Regions from separate parts of the Homo sapiens genome. Here all the other regions are linked to region 1. The links are contacts of gene promoters, found by promoter capture Hi-C in blood cells and fetal thymus (Javierre and others, 2016). All regions are on one chromosome and are shown on one strand. Each heading gives the region's core, a stretch centred on a gene start or on the middle of the fragment in contact. The rest is flanking DNA. Distances are from core to core; before and after follow the strand shown. Region 1 holds the start of RNASE4 (ribonuclease A family member 4). Region 2 overlaps ARHGEF40 (Rho guanine nucleotide exchange factor 40). Region 3 overlaps TTC5 (tetratricopeptide repeat domain 5). Region 4 has its middle 6.6 kb from the start of RNASE8. Region 5 overlaps PARP2 (poly(ADP-ribose) polymerase 2). Region 6 overlaps NDRG2 (NDRG family member 2). Region 7 overlaps METTL17 (methyltransferase like 17).

What was found. The method cuts DNA at HindIII sites, captures the fragments that hold promoters and counts their contacts. A CHiCAGO score of 5 or more calls a contact.
Region 2: a contact is called between a fragment that was not itself captured here and the fragment with the promoter of RNASE4 in region 1, in 2 of 17 cell types (monocytes and M0 macrophages). The highest score is 7.6, in monocytes.
Region 3: a contact is called between a fragment that was not itself captured here and the fragment with the promoter of RNASE4 in region 1, in 4 of 17 cell types (fetal thymus, activated CD4 T cells, megakaryocytes and 1 more). The highest score is 8.7, in fetal thymus.
Region 4: a contact is called between a fragment that was not itself captured here and the fragment with the promoter of RNASE4 in region 1, in 4 of 17 cell types (monocytes, M2 macrophages, M0 macrophages and 1 more). The highest score is 7.7, in monocytes.
Region 5: a fragment that was not itself captured here is called in contact with the fragment with the promoter of RNASE4 in region 1 in 17 of 17 cell types (naive CD8 T cells, naive CD4 T cells, total CD8 T cells and 14 more); the score reaches 21.7 in naive CD8 T cells.
Region 6: a contact is called between a fragment that was not itself captured here and the fragment with the promoter of RNASE4 in region 1, in 5 of 17 cell types (monocytes, fetal thymus, M1 macrophages and 2 more). The highest score is 7.7, in monocytes.
Region 7: a fragment that was not itself captured here is called in contact with the fragment with the promoter of RNASE4 in region 1 in 6 of 17 cell types (fetal thymus, total CD4 T cells, monocytes and 3 more); the score reaches 10.4 in fetal thymus.

What each region holds. Positions count from the first base shown.
Region 1 is chr14:20,683,287-20,685,827 of GRCh38, forward strand. It overlaps RNASE4 (ribonuclease A family member 4), which reads left to right and starts at 1,274. Exons shown (of 2, transcript NM_002937.5): 1 at 1,274-1,472. It overlaps TRY-GTA5-5 (tRNA-Tyr (anticodon GTA) 5-5), which reads left to right; the gene lies at 1-75. TRP-TGG3-2 (tRNA-Pro (anticodon TGG) 3-2) reads left to right here and starts at 730; the gene lies at 730-801. It also overlaps a transcript of ANG not described here. RefSeq lists enhancers at 166-355, 496-625, 1,426-1,565 and silencers at 756-805, 1,076-1,195. The HindIII fragment of the contact is 4,966 bases long and covers 1-1,794 here.
Region 2 is chr14:21,076,065-21,078,605 of GRCh38, forward strand. It overlaps ARHGEF40 (Rho guanine nucleotide exchange factor 40), which reads left to right. Exons shown (of 24, transcript NM_018071.5): 6 at 296-392; 7 at 499-579; 8 at 710-826; 9 at 2,113-2,208; 10 at 2,309-2,424. Among named protein-coding and RNA genes, the nearest start is that of ARHGEF40, 7.0 kb to the left of the region's middle. The HindIII fragment of the contact is 899 bases long and covers 830-1,728 here.
Region 3 is chr14:20,290,162-20,292,702 of GRCh38, forward strand. TTC5 (tetratricopeptide repeat domain 5) reads right to left here. Exons shown (of 10, transcript NM_138376.3): 9 at 1,822-1,966. Among named protein-coding and RNA genes, the nearest start is that of TTC5, 15 kb to the right of the region's middle. The HindIII fragment of the contact is 978 bases long and covers 787-1,764 here.
Region 4 is chr14:21,049,943-21,052,483 of GRCh38, forward strand. It overlaps a transcript of NDRG2 not described here. Among named protein-coding and RNA genes, the nearest start is that of RNASE8, 6.6 kb to the right of the region's middle. The HindIII fragment of the contact is 1,176 bases long and covers 690-1,865 here.
Region 5 is chr14:20,351,052-20,353,592 of GRCh38, forward strand. It overlaps PARP2 (poly(ADP-ribose) polymerase 2), which reads left to right. Exons shown (of 16, transcript NM_001042618.2): 6 at 1-71; 7 at 1,194-1,296. Among named protein-coding and RNA genes, the nearest start is that of PARP2, 8.7 kb to the left of the region's middle. The HindIII fragment of the contact is 4,027 bases long and covers 1-2,541 here.
Region 6 is chr14:21,017,850-21,020,390 of GRCh38, forward strand. It overlaps NDRG2 (NDRG family member 2), which reads right to left. Exons shown (of 16, transcript NM_001320329.2): 9 at 2,071-2,127; 10 at 1,790-1,893; 11 at 1,267-1,311; 12 at 914-965; 13 at 608-655; 14 at 355-390; 15 at 138-189. Among named protein-coding and RNA genes, the nearest start is that of MIR6717, 4.3 kb to the right of the region's middle. RefSeq lists an enhancer at 1,666-2,541. The HindIII fragment of the contact is 4,424 bases long and covers 1-2,541 here.
Region 7 is chr14:20,994,225-20,996,765 of GRCh38, forward strand. METTL17 (methyltransferase like 17) reads left to right here. Exons shown (of 14, transcript NM_022734.3): 8 at 319-389; 9 at 570-677; 10 at 941-1,009; 11 at 1,677-1,727; 12 at 1,985-2,068; 13 at 2,303-2,487. LOC101929718 (a long non-coding RNA gene) reads right to left here. Exons shown (of 4, transcript NR_110139.1): 4 at 1,613-2,106. Among named protein-coding and RNA genes, the nearest start is that of SLC39A2, 3.8 kb to the right of the region's middle. RefSeq lists an enhancer at 1,905-2,541. The HindIII fragment of the contact is 5,148 bases long and covers 1-2,541 here.

The DNA.
Region 1 (2,541 bases), core at 24-2,523:
GCTGGTAGAGCGGAGGACTGTAGTACTTAATGTGTGGTCATCCTTAGGTCGCTGGTTCGATTCCGGCTCGAAGGAGACGCTGCTGTTTTGGGGTTTACGGTTGCTCTTCGTTTGTGCAAAAAATCTCTGTATCTTGACGTGATCAAATCTGTTTCTGTCTCTCACCCTTGTCCGAAGGAAACAGCTTAGCCGCGAGGTGGGCTGCGTTAATCGCGTCTTGAAAAGTTGGTTACCTTTCTGAAAGATAGTAGACCCGAATCGTCCCACCGTTGGGGGAAGGCACTGTTGTCTTACCGAAGTGTGTTATATTTTGGCTTCTACGTTAAGTCCAAAGGCCGGCAGATATATACGTATCGCGCGTCTGTCCTGGGGCTCAGTACCCTACAGCCTTGCAACCGAGCTCAGCTCTGGCCCTCGATCTCTATTTCAGCCCCCTCCAGGTTCCCTCCAGGCCCTAGCGGGCTTAAATCGCTCCCCGGGCTCAGTGAGACACAAGCATGTGACCTAAAGTCTAAAAAGCTGCCTTCCTTCACCCCATCCTGCATCTGGATCGAGGAGAATAAGCCAGAGAATAAGCCACACTTGAAACTTGGTGAAGATGGAAGGAATAACTAAATAAGGCCTAAGGGAAATGTCACAACAGAGGAAAAGAAACAAAACAAAAAACCTTCAGAACAGCAGGCGGAAAAGAGAAATTCAGAGTGATAGGAAGCACCACTCAGCTACAGTGGCTCGTTGGTCTAGGGGTATGATTCTCGCTTTGGGTGCGAGAGGTCCCGGGTTCAAATCCCGGACGAGCCCTCGTGGCTACTGTTTTTCCACCCCCTTTTGTCAACTACTGAAAAAAAGTCTCCGTTAAATTTGAAACACAAACTGTCTCGCGATGGGCTGTCCTGCCAAAGAAAGCAGCAGCGAATAAGTACGTGGCAGATGGTGCTGTCGACCAGTGTCAAGACCAAGTTTCATGGGTTCCTGGACGCTCAGCCAGGGGTAGTCTCTGAAGGGCCGCCTGGCAATTGGGAGCAGAAGCCAGTTTCCCGCCATCTGCTCTCCGTGGAGGCAGTGCTCTCGCGGCTGCTGCCCGTTGGGGTCCAGCTGAGGAAGGAGCGCGGATCCCAGGCTCGTTCTTTGCCTGGGCTGCCCCTGCGGCCCCTGGGGCGGGTGCTGCTGCGGCGCCAGCTCCAAGGGCGGATCCAGGCGGGAGGGGCCTCCTCGGAGAAGCGGGGCGCGGTCCCAACTACGCAGAGGCTGGCACGCCGACCCTCCACACCTCACCACGCCCCCATCTCCGTCCGTGTACACACACTCACACAAGGACGCCAACCCCACCTAGATGCAAAGCAGGATTCAAAAGAACATCTTTGCGTTTTCTACCGGCTCCCCATCATCGTACTAGGGAGGAAGAAGCGGGTGAGAAACAAAACTTCTTTCCATTGTCCTGCCCGTTTCTGCGGACTTGTTCTGAGGCCGAGGTAGGTTCACACTCCTGCTCCTCCTCCTCCTCTCTGGTAGCTTCATAAGGGGCGTTTAGGCCGGGGAGTCCTTTCCTAGTAGAGGCAGCTTGGGACTCCTTGGGGAGGAGTTTGCGGGACGGGGCTGGAGAGGGAGGAATGGGGAGGGACGTGAAAGTCCCGTATTTGTATGAGTTAACGACTTTACATTCCCACTCAGGTTTACTTTGCGCAGCTGGGCACAGATGCCAGCTTCTATTGATTAGTAGGCTTGGAGGGGGACCACAGAATCGCCGAACCTAAGGGAAGCCCTAGGAGGCCTGCACTTGCCCACAACTAAGAAAGCTTTGCTAGTTATTCAGGCTAATCACCAGCTTTTTGAAGCAGGCCTTAGTTTTTTGCAAGCGTAACTAACATTTGGGGATCGGTGTTTTCTGTTTACTCTCCTCTGCCTCCTCACCCTTAACCCACCCTCAGCCAGTGTTGTGCAATTCTTAGAGACACTTGCCAACAGCCTCTTCTCTAAGCCTTCCTACTGGAAGGTTGGGATCCTCCGTTTTCTCGCTCTGAGACAGCACGTCAAATGCTAATAGCAGCACATGAGTAAAGCGCAACATCTTTATTAAAACAATTTCAGCACCACTCAGGGGGCTAGGGAAATCTCAGATGAGCCAAGACCCTCCCTCGTGACAGTAAAAATCTTATAATCAAGTCATAATGTAATCAGTAGAAACCCAAGGGACATCATTATCTGTGGCACAGGACCACCTTCCCAGAAGCAGCCTCAGGTATTCAAGACTTACTTAACCACAGAGCCACTAACAAGTTTTGCAAGAGGATAGGTTTATTACATACGCTTCAATTCAAGCAATTCTTTTACTGATGACAAGCAGAGTAAAATAATTTTTGAATTTATGGTAATAGTCAATGTAGGTTTCCTTCGAACAGCAACTTTCAGTGGCCCCTTTAAAGTTAGCTCTGATTGTCTAGAAAGTACTAGTATGGAATATAAAAGTTGTGTGGGCCCGGCACGGTGGCTCATGCCTGTAATCCCAGCACTTTGGGAGGCCGAGGTGGGTGCATCACAAGA
Region 2 (2,541 bases), core at 29-2,528, 390 kb after region 1:
ATACTACAGGCTGATATTGAATGCACGCCATTTCAGAACAGAATTCTTAATTTTCCAGACCTTAATCCCTTGACCTAGTAGCCATATGAATATAGACCCCTGACTGCTAGGTGACTTCCTCTTGTACACACACCCCAGAATTTGGCCCTTTGCCCATTTCTTCCCAAATGTACCGGCAACTAATTTCTCCTCAGGACTATTAACTAAAAACAGACCCCGTATGTCTGCCTTGCCTTATCTGCTATCCCCCAAAACACACACACAGCAGCCTCCTTGGCTCTTCCTGCTCCCGCAGGCCTGATCTACAGACACTGGGGCTGTCCGTCCTGCTGGACCTTCGTCAGGCACCTCCACTGCCTCCAGCACTCATTCCTGCCTTGAGCCAACTTCAGGTAACCACCCCTCAAACAGGCAGTTCCCCTGGATCCTAACTCTTCACCAGTGGCCAGTCCAGGACACCCGATTGCCCAGTTTAGGGTTATTCTTTTCTGCCCTTAGGACTCAGGAGATCCTCCCCTTGTTCAGCGGCTGCTGATTCTCATTCATGATGACCTTCCAACTGAACTCTGTGGATTTCAGGTTTGAGCCCTTCATTCCCATCTAGTTTCCCATCAGTAGTGGGGAGAGGAGAAGAGGCTGGCTGGAGCCCCAGGCTGGTTTCTGAGTCCTTGGGTGCCCAGGAAGAAACCCCCTGCCTTACCCTCTACAGGGTGCTGAGGTGCTGTCAGAGAATGATCTGAAAAGAGTGGCCAAGCCAGAGGAGCTGCAGTGGGAGTTAGGAGGTCACAGGGACCCCTCTCCCAGTCACTGGGTAGAGATACACCAGGTAAGCTTCCCCTCTACCACCTAGCATGCTGGGAGCCAGGAATAACCCAGCTGAAGACATTCTAGGAGAGAGGCCATGTCCAGGACATACCATGAGGTTGCAAAAAAGTGGTTTCCATTCCATTCAATTCAACAAGTATTTATGGCTCCCAAATCATGAGGAAAACATGTGCACTGTGCCATGTTCTACTGGGGAGATAGGAGGAGTATGATAAATTATTATAATTATTATTTTTAGACAGTCTCACTCTGTCACCCAGGCTGGAGTGCAATGCTTCGATCACAGCTTACTGCAGCCTCGACCCTCTGGACTCAGGCGATCCTCCCATGTCAACCTCTTGAGTAGCTGTGGCTACAGGCATGTGCCACCACACCCACCTAGTTTTTGTATTTTTTTTTTTTTTTTTTTTGTAGAGACGGGGTTTTGCCATGTTGCCCAGGCTGGTCTCAAACTCCTGGACTCCAGTGATCCACCCGTCTCAGCCTCCCGAAGTGCTAAGATTACAGGCATGAGTGACTATGCCCAGCCAAATAAATTCTTAATATGACATTAAGTAGTGTATGATTTTTGGTGGGAGATAAATCATGAAACAAGTAGAGAAGAGTGCAAGATAGTGTCATTGGGTTTCTGGAAAGCACTGAGAGTCAAAAGGCTGGTTCTTGTTCCAAATTACTTTACCTCACTTGCAGAAATAGTGCCCTTTCTGTATCCGCTCCTTGCACCAACATCCAGGCCTCAGGATCCTCATCAGCGCAGTATAACAATCACAATATAATTGCTAAAGGTCCTTCCAGCACTTATCTCATGTAATTCTATGAATATAAGTGTTGTGAGTATTCAAGAAGAGAGAAATAAACATGATCTGAGCTGAGTATGAAAGAGGGGTCTGTAGATGGTCTCTAAGCTTCGCCTTTAGTGTCAAAGGGGAAATTGACATGAATAGGCAGAGAGAGGGGGTGTGACAGGGGGAAGCCCCACTGAAGACAGACAGGAAGGTCACAGTTACCAAGCTGTACAATGTGCCAGGCCCACGTTAGTTGCTAAACTGGCATCATCTCCTTAAAAATCACAGAAGCCTTTCTTATCCTGACTTTACAGTTGAGGAACTGAAGTTCAGGAAGGTTTCTGAACCTGCCCAACCTCATACAATTAGTTAGCAACAAAGTCAGGAACTGAATTCAGCATTGCCTCCATAAAAGTCTCTGGGGCTACCGCACCCCAACCCTAGGGCTTAAGTTCCTTCTTAAACTCTGATCCTCAACTCCATCCCTGCATGTGGGTTTCAGGAAGTGGTAAGGCTATGTCGCCTGTGCCAAGGTGTGCTGGGCTCGGTACGGCAGGCCATTGAGGAGCTGGAGGGAGCAGCAGAGCCAGAGGAAGAGGTATGAAATGAGATGGGACAGTGGGGGGATGGGATTGGGATGGGGCTGGGGTGGAGACTCTCTGGTGGAACCCCAACTGGCAACTCCTCCCTATCCCCAGGAGGCAGTGGGAATGCCCAAGCCACTGCAGAAGGTGCTGGCAGATCCCCGGCTGACGGCACTGCAGAGGGATGGGGGGGCCATCCTGATGAGGCTGCGCTCCACTCCCAGCAGCAAGTACGAAGTATGGGTGTGCGGAGGCAGGTGGAAGTGGGAGGTGGAGACACAGCTGAAGGCTGCCAACAAACCTTAGCTGCCAGACCATTCTTACTGTGCATGTATCTGGGCAAGATA
Region 3 (2,541 bases), core at 26-2,525, 390 kb before region 1:
TCCTAATTTAATCCACCAAATACAAATTAAAGTTACTTCTCTTTTATATCAAGAGGAGGAAATAGAACATGAAACAGAATGTAGCCGTTTTCCTAATAACAAAAAAGGTATCAGCTCACTGTATCAGTTTAAGTGTATTTTAAGTTGTAAAACATATTAAATAGTCTTCATCCAAAAAATATGGCAATGAGAGGCAGGCTCTTTTAAGTCCAAGTAAAGTAAATTTAAAAGTTCTCATAAACCAATTTTTTTTAAGTCTTCACAGAAATATCAACAAGTGACACAAAAAATGGCAATTTATACAAGAAATATAAATTAATATTCATGCTATATTTTCCATGTAAAATTAGAAAATAACTTTTCAAAGGTTTCCAACCAGAGTTGAGAAAAAAACTACAGAGAAACACTTATTTACATCCACTGTTGGTAGTGACAACTAACTAGTACAATTTTCCAAAGAATTATTTGGCAATATGTATCAAAAGCCTCAGAATTCTGCATACCCTTTGGACCCAGGAGTCTACATTAGAAATTCATTTAAGGAACTAATCATAGATACAAGCAAAGATACAAAAATCCTCACTGTGTTTCTAATTTTTTTTCTATTATAAAAGTACTAATTTAGATCGGAGGTCATCAAAGTATTTCTGCAAAGGGACAGATAGTAAATATTTTAGGCTTTGTAGGTCATATGGTCTCTGTTACAGAACAAGTCACCTCTGACACTATAGTGCAAAAACAGCCACAGACAATAGTAAGCAAATGAGTGTGGCTGTGTTCCAATAAAGCTTTATTTGTGGACACTGAAATCTGAATTTCCTGTAATTTTCACATATCACAAAATATTACGCTTCTGTCCATTTTTTTCACTTAACAACACAGAAACCACACTCTTGTTTTTCTTTTTTTTTTGAGGCAGACTTTCTCTATCACCCGGGCTGGCGTGCAATGGGACAATAATGGCTTACTGCAGCCTCAAACTCCTGAGATAAAGTGGTTCTCTCACTTCAGCCTCCTTAGTAGCTGGGACTACAGGCATGTGCTACCATACCTGGCTAAGTTTTTTAACATTTTTTTGTAGAGACGGGGTCTCACTATATAGCCCAGGCTGGTCTTAAACTCCTGGGCTCAAGTGATCCTCCCACCTTGGCCTTCCAAAGTGCTGGGATTTTACGCATGAGCCACCATGCCCAGCCTAGAAACCATTATTAATAAACACAAGCAGTGAGCCAGATTTGGTCAATGGGCTTTGCCAACCTCTGATCTAAATGGTTAAACAGTAGTTAAATATCTACATTCATAAGGTTTTTTTAAGAATTGAATGGGGCAAGGCAGGTAATAAAAACTCTTAGCACAGTGTCTAGCACTCAATTAAGTGTTAAATAAATGTTAACTATCATTACCATCTTCATCACCCCGTGTCTACTCAATGTGGTGAAATATGTAAAAACATAGGAAACATTCACAAACATTTGCATATAATATCCCACTCATGATTTAAAATATAGATATATGTGTATATATTTGTGAAAAGAAAAGACTTCAGGTATATACACCAAACTGTTAACAGTAACAGTTAAAAGGCAGTAATACCTGAGTGATAATATTTCACTGCATTTTTTTATTTTTCTGCTTACCAGTTTACCTTTTTAGTAAAAAAATACATATATATATATAAATAAAACATATACACACAAATATATATACACATAGCCTACACACATACTTACATATAATTATTTCTATATCTTTTATAAAAAGATAAGCTTGGTTCTACTTTTAGAGCCTACGAGTTGTAAGAGAATCCTAGCCATTGCTCACCTTTCCTTTGTGCTGAATTCGGTGAAGCCGCAGGTTGGGCTCAGGAATGGCTACAGAGTCTCCAATGAGCACTCCCCAGCTCTGCACTATATTGTACACCATCACTGCATAGCAAGGTCCATCTGAATCTACCAGGCCAAATGTACTACCAAGTAAAGACAGATTAGGAGAGAGGAAAACAAAAAGGTATGTGGGTAGGAAAGAAGAGCAGAAACAGTGGTTTAAAAATACTAGCAAAATACTGGACTTAAAGTCAGTGACAGGTAATTAAAATAAAATATAAAATTTAACTTAATTAAACTTTAAAAATAAAATACTAACAAAATAAACAAATGCTTTTTCTCAGTTACTCAGAAAACCTATGAGAGGTACCATCTTCCACTTTATATATCTGAGTCTTCATTTTTCTGAAACTCATCAGTCACTTTGCTAAGAACTTAGGACAAAGCACACTGAAGCCATTCAACAAATATTAATGATGAACTAGACCAACATGTTACAGTTGTAACATTATTCCTGGTCTATCAATTTAACTATCATACTCTTAACCAAAGCCTCTAACCATCACTGTCTGTGTAGTTTAACTCCACAAACTTTCACTGAATATTACATATGTGCCAAGCATTGTGTTTAGCAATAAGATACCAATCCAGCTATGAATGACCTATAGTCTAGCAGGAGTCAGACAATGAAGTCATCACTTACAGCACAGTGTGATGG
Region 4 (2,541 bases), core at 28-2,527, 370 kb after region 1:
ATTTTTGTATTTTTAGTAAAGACTGGGTTTCACCATGTTGGTCAGGCTGCTCTTGAACTCCTGACCTCATGTTCTGCCTGCCTTGGCCTCCCAAAGTGTTGGGATTACAGGTGAGCCACTGTGCCCAGCCCAGATATCTTTCAAGATCAAATCATACATGGACTGGCAAATCAATCTGCAAATGGGCAGACCCCCGGATTTGAGACAAAAGCATGTTCATCCAAAAGAGTATTAAGTGCCCGTAATCCTGACACGTTGCATTTCTGACCTTCACCTGAATGCTCATATTGTATCATTGAGATGGGAAAAAAACAGTACATGAGGAATTGATGGCAAACTAGTCAAGCATGTCCCTGGCCGTGCCATTGGCTGCTGGAAACATAAATAAGGATATGCAACAAGAAAAAGGGCCTGGACCTCCCATCTGCTACTCCGGACCAGGGTGAAAACATTACAGAGATCCTGTTTGGTGGAGCTCCGGGTGGGCCTGAGATATCCCAAGCATTTATCTTTGGTAAGGGTTACCACTTTTTACCCTTGAATTTGGCATATCCAGAACAGGATCTTCATGGTCAACTAGAACCTGCAGAGCAATGCTTCCCAGAATTTCCCCTGAAGTGCTAGTAACCACAGAGGAAGATGAACTAAAACACCTAAAGTAGTGCCCAATGAGCTTGGGCTTTCTCTGAAGCTTCTTTCACTTAACTAATATTTATAAAATAGCCGTGCATATGAGTGTTTTATATGCTATCTTTAAATTTCATTTGTGGTAATAATAATAATGGATCAATGTCAATTTCCCCTTTTTGGTGGCTGTACTGTGGTTATGCACACGAGAGTACTTGTAATTAGGAAATAGTCACTGAAGTATTAAGGGGTAATGAGCATCATGTCTGTAACTTGTTCTGAAATAGCTCAGAAATGTTAATAATTGGGGAACTGGGTGAAGCATATAGGGGAGCTCTGTGTATGCTTTCTGAAACTTTTATATACGTTTTAAATTATTTCAAAGTGAAAATGCTAAAAAAATTTAATGTAACTCATTTGAATTTTTCTATCATACAAAGTTATTTTCTGTAAAAATAATGCCTTAAATTACTCCCCATCCCCTAAAAAGATGGTTTTAGTAAAATTGTAAAGAACACATTTATCTTGTGACTTTGTGTACCCTCTGCACACATCTGTGTTCCACCTGGGGTAGCAGTACACTGGCTCTAATGTTTTCCTTAACTTGCTCTTTGTGGATTTCTGTCTCTGACCAGTGTTTCTTTTCAAGAACTGGTTGAGGAAGATAGGGTAGTCATGGGGCTAGGGCATTGGAAAGGTCCTTTTCATGCTGAAAAATGAGAAAATAGACATAGAGCACTTGGAACAGTGACTGGAACATAGAAAAGCCTCAGTAAATGTTAACTATGATTGTTTTTATCGTTATGACCCCTATCATTCCTAGCAGGGCTGAAGGCTGCACGCAGCCTTGTTGTGGTAAGTCAGAGGTCTCAGGAGGGCAGCCGGCCTATGAGGGGAACTGGCGTATCCAGGGAGCCATATGCCTCAGCTCTGGTTGGGTTGAAGACTACATCCTCTCCCTCATGAAGATGAATCCAGGAGTGAGGAACAAAGGGAGACAGTCCTCCCGCAGAGACAAGCTCATAGTGCAAATGGGCACCATAGGAAGGCCTCAAAGAACTACATAGAAAAGAAAAATGGACCTGGCAGGAGACAGGGTTAGCCACTGGAAACAGAGGAGGGCTTCCCAAAAGGAATGTGGCCACTGGATTCCATGTGATGGAGCTCTGCTTCTCAGAGCCATAAACCAGGGCCCAGACCACAGGTCTGTCACCACCAGGAGGCTGTTTGAAGGTTGAAGCTTGAAAAACCCTATGGGGGTGGCACTTGTAGTTCAAAGACGACCCTCGTGGTACTGCTGTCCTTCAGGCCAGCAAACCAGGCAAACTTCTCTGGCACCCTCGCTCAGCCCTCCTGGGGTATCCTGAAAGAATGGGTCTTTGGGAGATAGTTGCTTATTCTCTGCTCCCCTTCTTTCAAGGCACCTTCAGAGTCTACTATTAGGCCTCTCCTTCATACTAGTAAGGTGCTGGCTACTTACTAGCACTTTGATGTTTTTTCTTGTGTCACACAAGTGTCAGAACCAGGGGGCATTTTAGACATTATTCAACTGAAACTCCTTGTGTTATAAATAGTAAGAAGACTGAGAGGATCAGAGTGATGACTGAGTTCAATGCACGGTTACTGAGTGCTCCTGTGAGCTAGCCATGTGCCTGGCACTATGAAGACAGAGAAGCACGGAAGGACCTGATTCCTGTCCCACGAGTTTACCGTCTAGTTGGGAAGACTGGATGCTCTTACTGGATGAAAGAGTTAAATAGCAAAACAAGGTAGTACACGATTTAGAACCCAAATGAGTGATACTATGAAACAGTTAATGCTAAAGGAGGTTAGGATTTGTACGGCAAGGTTCGTAAATGTGATCCTGAGCAAACTCATATGGTCAAGATGAGTTCTAAAGGATGGATAATATTT
Region 5 (2,541 bases), core at 16-2,515, 330 kb before region 1:
AAAATGGGACAGCACAGCCTGGTGGCTTGTTCAGGCAATCTCAACAAGGCCAAGGAAATCTTTCAGAAGAAGTGAGTGCTGAAAAGTGACTACAAAAAAATATACCCTCCTCTTCTTAGATGTATATTCTCTAAAAAATTTTTTTTTAGACAGTTTCACTCTTGTTGCCCAGGCTGGAGTGCAATGGCATGATCTGAGCTCACTGCAACCTCCACCTCCTGGGTTTAAGTGATTCTCCTGCCTCAGCCTCCCTAGTAGCTGGGATTACAGGCGCCCACCACCACGCCCAGCTAATTTTTGTATTTTTAATAGAGATGGGGTTTCGCCATGTTGGCCAGGCTGGTCTCGAACCCCTGACCTCAGGTGATCCGCCTGCCTCAGCCTCCCAAAGTGCGGGATTACAGGCGTGAGCCACCGTGCCCTGCCTTCTCTAAGAATTTTATAAGTGTGTGGCTTATAAAAAACTTTTCGTTTTATAGGTGTGATTTGGCCTAAATGTTAATGTCTTTTCACCCTGACATTCTGTGGTTGAAACACCAAACTGCATCCTTAGTGATTAAATCAAACTAATACCTTGAAAGTCACTAAAAACAGAAGAATCTAATATATTTAACACATGACTGACAAATTTAGGAAATTTGGGATAAGTGGAGACTATCCTGGGATAGATAATATTCAACTAGGGGCTGAGCACGGTGATGCCTGTAATCCCAGCACTTTGGGAGGTTGAGGCAGGAGGATTGCTTGAAGCTAGGAGTTTGAGACCAGCCTGGGCAACAAAGCGAGACCCCTGACTCTCCCCCAAAAAAAAGGAAAGAAAAAAAGAGAATATTCAGTTAGAATTTTTAAAACTTTATGATATAGATGAAGAACTTTCTGGAGAATTGGAGAACATGTTTCTTTCAGGGAAAGAGATTAGATGGATATCTTTTGTTTGAAATCTCAATGGCTTTTGTGGTGTTTGGGAAGGACAAGCATTGTTTTTCCCATTTTTTAAATTCCATTTGTCTCCAGAGCTTTTTTGTCCATTTAGTGTCCTCATTTAGAATTAGACTAATTTTGATTTATGGAAAGTTGATGTGTAAAGGAGCTCAGTGCTGGAAAATAAATTCTTTGGAGATTTTCTGTCTTGTAAGTCCATCTTCATAGTAGACCTTTATTTGTAAAGTTTTCTTACACCTTGGACTCTACAGATTCCTTGACAAAACGAAAAACAATTGGGAAGATCGAGAAAAGTTTGAGAAGGTGCCTGGAAAATATGATATGCTACAGATGGACTATGCCACCAATACTCAGGTAACTCTCACTATACTTTTCGAAAGAAACACATCTTCTTTTTTTATTTTATTTTTTAGAGGCAAAACTGTGCTCTGTTGCCCAGGCTGGGTGGCACAATCATGGCTCACTGCAGCCTCAAGATCCTCAGGCTCAAGTGATCCTCCCACCTCAGCCTCCTCAGTATCAGGAACTACAGGCACGTGCCACTCTGCCCAGCTGATTTTTTTTCTTTTTTTTTTGTAAAGATGAGGTTTCACTATGTTGCCCAGGCTGGTCTCGAATTCCTGGGCTCAAGCAGTCCTCTTGTCTTGGCCTCCCAAAGTCCTGAGATTACAAGCATGAGGCACCACACCTACTCCTGTTTCTTCTTACTCAGGGTAAAGCAGAATAGCTTAGATCATTCCTGGACTGGGACAGGCCAGGATATCTTGAATCCTTTCTACTTCTCACCTCAGGGGTGCTCTCACTGATCTTTGTAATCCCAAAGGGACAGTAAGAATGAGGATAGAATGTGCCTTTCTAGTCTTGGCTCTGTTATTTACTAAGGTTCTTTTTTTTTTTTTTGAGCTGGAGTTTGATTCTTGTTGCCCAGGTTGGAGTGCAATGGCTCAGTCTCAGCTCGCTGCAACCTCCAGCTCCCGGGTTCAAGCGATTCTTCTGCCTCAGCCTCTCAGGTAGCTGGGATTACAGGTGCCCGCCACTATGCCCAGCTAATTTTTTTTGTATTTTTAGTAGAGACAGGGTTTCATCATGTTGGCCAGTCTGGTCTTGAACTCGTGACCTTGGGTGATCTACCCGCCTCAGCTTCCCAAAGTGCTGGGATTACAGGCGTGAGCCATCACGCCCGGCCTACTAAGTTTCTTATAAAATCTTAGGCCCTATTTCCAGACGTTTATTGTTTTTTTCGTTTTTTTGTTTTTGTTTTTTTTTGATACGGAGTCTCGCTCTGTCGCCCAGGCTGGAGTGCAGTGGCGCGATCTCGGCTCACTGCACGCTCCGCCTCTGGGTTCACGCCATTCTCCTGCCTCAGCCTCCGGAGTAGCTGGGACTACAGGCGCCCGCCACCACGCCCGGCTAATTTTTTTTTGTATTTTTAGTAGAGACGGGGTTTCACCATGTTAGCCAGGATGGTCTCGATCTCCTGACATCATGATCCGCCCGTCTTGGCCTCCCAAAGTGCTGGGATTACAAGCGTGAGCCACTGCGGCTGGCACCAGAAGTTTATTGTTATGGACCAAGAGAGGAGTGATAAAAAATCAAACT
Region 6 (2,541 bases), core at 21-2,520, 330 kb after region 1:
CTAGTTATAACTAAGCCAGGGGATCAACGAGCTCGATTGGGCAGATAGCGGTGAGTCCAGGCATTCACCTAAAACGGTTCCACCCCGTCAGTGCCTATCTCTCCTCTAGTGCAGCAAGCTCTTGTCCCGATACTCACTGTAGCCCATGCCTTGCAGGAAGTACTTGAAGGCCTCGGTCAGCTTGCCTGGCTGCGGAAGTAAGAAGAGGCGAGGGAGACGGTGAGATGAGGTTAGAGGAAGAGCTGGAGCCTGAGGCTGCGGCACTGTGGGGCCGGGTGTGTGGCAAAGGGCAGAGCCCAGTGCCACCGGTATCCTATGTCCCTTCCCCATCCCATGGACGGCAGCGGCACTCACCTGAGTCAGCTGGGGCTGACCTCCGGAGTCAGCCATCTGTTCAGGAGAGCACCACCCAGAAAAAGTGAAACACACATAAATGAGCCATGCAGAGAGGTGGAAAGGGTCTCTCTTCCCTAGCTTCTTCACTCTAGCCCCTTTGTTTTGTTCTTCGTTCACCCCATTTGCTCCCATGCCGGGCCCTGGAGGCTTAGCAGCTGCATGTAGAGAGGATATATGACTGTGGACGGGGGCCCAGGAACAGGTTACTGACCTTGAGGAACGAGGTCTGGGTGGGGTCCAGTTTTGAGTTACATTCCACCTGGAGTAAGCAGGAGGCTGAATGAATGAGGTCACGCCCACTGTGGCGCCTCCCCCGTAAGGGACCCAGGAACCCAGACCCCAGTCCCTTTTCTATCAGCTCCCTACCCAGTTCCTCCTTACCAGGAATCAAATTCTTAGTGCCCCAAAGTTGATCTCCCTGTGCCAAACAGGACATCCCCTTGGCAAGATACTCTTCTGACCACCACTTTAGGACCCCAACCCTCCTCCCTCACTCACCCCAAAATTCCCTACTAACCACTGCATCTTCATGAGGTGCTTGGTCTCCTACCACCAGCATCACAGGACACCTAAAGACACAGTGTTGGGGAGAAGGCAGTGAGCCCCTGGCACTCCCTCACTGGCCTCTGCCTAGGAGTGCAGCTGGAAAAATATCTGGCTCCAAAGAGGAAAGACACTTCTGTGTCTCCCTGCTGATGCCACCAAGAGGATTCAAAGGGGGAAGACCTAGAGGGAAGTGATTTACCAAATAGGATGGGGTGGGACATGACAAGGAAGTTCCCTGGCAAAAGATTCTCCTTCTTCTAAGGGACACAAGCTCCTAGGGAAGATCCAGGGAGACAGGCAATGCATTATCTCTTAAAGTCTTACCTGAGGGTGATATCACCTCCACGCTCAAAGTTCAGGTCTCGGCGGCTAGAAAGGGGTTAAAAGAGTAGGAATTTTAGGTGGGCAATGCTATCTAACCAGATATAAGCTATCTCTCCCATGATGGAACTATCTTTGTCTAAAAATTACGGTCAAATCTTGGTTATTAAAGGTGGAAACCAAAGGAGAAAGGGGCAGGCAGGCCCCAAGCACAGCCCCTATAGTCACTTGTGCCCTAGATCCCTGGTCAGAGGGCAACAAAAGGGGAGGAAGGACACAGGACACAAGATCATCTTACTTCTGGGAGTCCAATAATCCAAAGGAGGTAAACAAGAGAAGGGGGACAGCCCCTTGCAATCCTTCCCACTGACTCTGTCCTGAAGCTGCCCCCATTGCACACTAAATGCTGCATTCCTTGCACATTGCACACTACCCAGACTTCCCTCTCCTCCTCTGTGCCTCCCCCATGACGCCCAATTACTGCTTCTGCATTTCTCTCACATGCATACACACACAGCCCACCCACTTGTTGTAGCTGTTCCAGTACAATTCAATGTTATCCAGGTTGGGTGCATGTGTAATGATATTTCTGTACTTTTGTATCAACTCAGAATTTCCAGAGAGCTCTTCCTGAAGGAGAGAACAAGGAGAAAAATTAGGGATGGAAAGAGAAAACAACAATTACTGGAGGAAAAGAGGTAAGCCTTCTTCCTTCCCCAAATCCTGTCCCAGCTAAGGAAGTTAGCCCAAGCATTCAAGTTCCCTGCTGCTCCCGTCGACTCTTCTACATCTCCTACACCCACTTACCTGGCTGAAAAGATGTCCAAGGATCATCTCCGGAATGGAAGAGGTGAGGCCTGTTAGCTATGAGGAGAAGGCAGGTGAGAAAGTTCAGGGTATTGGCCAGGCACAGTGGCTCACGTCTGTAATCCCAGCACTTTGGGAGGCCGAGGCGGGTGGATCACGAGGTCAGGAGTTCAAGACCACCCTGGCCAAGATGGTGAAACCCCATCTCTACTAATAATACAAATATTAGCCAGGCGTGGTGGCGGGTGCCTGTAATCCCAGCTACTTGGGAGGCTGAGGCAGGAGAATCACTTGAACCCAGGAAGCAGAGGTTGCAGTGAGCCAAGATCAAGCCACTGCACTCCAGCCTTGGCAACAGAGTGAGACACCATCTCAAAAAAAAAAAAAAAAAGAAAAAGAAAAAGAAAGTTCAGGATATTATAAGAGACTCAGGCAAAGTGACAGCTTCACTTTCCTGCCCCTTTACTCCCT
Region 7 (2,541 bases), core at 29-2,528, 310 kb after region 1:
GGACTGAGGATGGGTTGGGTAAGAATCAAAGGACAGGAGGCCTAATATTCTCCCTGCCCTTTTTTTTTTTTTTTTAATTAGAGGTAGGGTCTCCATATGTTACCCAGGCTGGTCTCAAACTCCTGGCCTCAAGCCATCCTCCCACTTCAGCCTCTAGGGTAGCTGGGATTACAGGCACGCACCGCCATACCTGGCTCATCCCTGCCCTTTTTGATATACACTTTACCTATTCTTGGGGCCATGTTTCTTATCTGGATATCTCTTCAGTTTATACCTAACTTCCTACACACTCACAGTTGCCTCTTCTTTTCTCCACAGGTGGTTCAGAATCTGGGGAGCCTTATATTCCAGGTGTCTTTTTCAGACAGTTTCTACCTGTATCACCCAAGGCAAGTGGCAGTGTTTAGAATATTCTAAATGTGGAATGTGGCAGATGGAAAACTATGGCTTGAGCTTTGCAGCCCAGCACTGAGTGTTAGAAGATAAAAGAAATTTAGCGGCTAGGACTTTGTTGTATTCTTGGGATGTAGAGATGTTGAGTCTGTCATGTTCCTTGTCTTGGTCCTCAGGTGCAGTTTGATGTAGTAGTGTCAGCTTTTTCCTTAAGTGAACTGCCCAGCAAGGCTGACCGCACTGAGGTAGTTCAAACCTTATGGCGTAAGACAGGTCATTTCCTGGTGAGTTAAAATTCCTTGTTCTCCTTAAGTCTTGAAGCAGCTTCATGGATTTCATGCCTTTGCTCCTCTCATTGTCTTTATTCTTCACCATTTTTCTCCTTCATGGGTTTCTTTATCCCTCTTTGAGGGTCTCCATCCTGATTATGTAATGCCTATTTCTTTTTAGGACTCCTTCTCCCTCTATGATTGCTCTTACACAGCTACTGACATTTATACTTTCGTGTAATTCAAGTCTTCTGCATATTTTCCCCTTTTGTGAACAGGTACTGGTGGAGAATGGAACAAAAGCTGGGCACAGCCTTCTCATGGATGCCAGGGATCTGGTCCTTAAGGTAAGGCTTCTTCTTCCCTCACTCCCCCACCCATATGGCACCAATTACTGTTACTCTCTTGAAAACGAAAGAGACTGTCATGTATTGACAAGGGTGGCTCTCAGGAAACTGGGCGTATGAAGTCATTATGATACAGAGCAGTGGTTGGCAAATGAGAGCCTGTGGATCAAATCCGACCTGCCACCTGTTTTTATATAAGCCATGCTTATTTGTGCCTCTGTTGTCTGTGACTGCTTTCACACTACAAACAGCAGAGTTGAGTAGTTGGGACAGAGATAGATTTTGCCTACTCTCTGGCCCTTTAAAAGAAACTTTGCGGACTCCTAATCTAGGGCATTGCTGAGCTAAGAACCTTGTCACTGGGGGAGAGTATGAGCCAGTGTATAATCATAAATTTAATTGTCCTGGAGTGGGATTTTTTTGAGAGTGGAGGTTGCTGACAAGGGAGAGCACCGTACTATGTGCCAAGTTCTTGCCTTTCTCCTGCAGCAAAGAGAAAGTTCTTTGTTTGGAGTATTAAAGATGCAGCCAGCTTAATTCAAAGGACATAGTCAATCGTTATTAGAATTGAGTGTTAAAGGAGTCCTCAGTTTACTGAGTGCAGAGATTGAATTATGAAAATAGACCCTTGGCCCAGCTTTATTTCTTTTATTTCCTTTGATTTCAGGGAAAAGAGAAGTCACCTTTGGACCCTCGACCTGGTTTTGTCTTTGCCCCGGTGAGTATTACTTCTGCCTGTCCCACCACACGGATCTGAACTTAGGCGTGGCCGGGAAATGTAAGATGGTAAAGCTAAGCCACTCTCCACTACTTTGTGTTCCTATCCAGTTCCTACCTAATGATTCCCCTGGCTCTTCCTACCCACTGCTCCTGTCCTCCCTTCTCCCTGGCCCCTTTTGACTCTATTATTCTCAGTTTTTAAGTTTTGTGATTGATGGCTCTTTTGTCTTACCTCATTTTTTTATGTGTTCACAGTGTCCCCATGAACTCCCTTGTCCCCAGTTGACCAACCTGGCCTGTAGCTTCTCACAGGCGTACCATCCCATCCCCTTCAGCTGGGTAGGTACCTGGGGATATTGCAGCAGGAAGCAAACATCCTGGAAAAACAGGAAGAAAAAGAATCAGAGTTAGGAGGAGTTGGATAATTTGTAGAATAGCCTGGAGACTTTAGGGCCTACATGTATATGATTTATACATTGTAAAAAAGGACTGCAGGAATGGGGAAGAAGGGACTGTACAAACTTTTTTCCCATATCTTTTTCTTCTAAACAGTCTCTATGTTCCTTATCTTAGAACAAGAAACCAAAGGAAGAAAAGTTCTCTATGGTGATCCTTGCTCGGGGGTCTCCAGAGGAGGCTCATCGCTGGCCCCGTATCACTCAGCCTGTCCTTAAACGGCCTCGCCATGTGCATTGTCACTTGTGCTGTCCAGATGGGCACATGCAGCATGCTGTGCTCACAGCCCGCCGGCACGGCAGGTATGGGGGGTGTGACCAAAATCAGTGGGATGTGGCAGGAAGCTGCAGCCCACG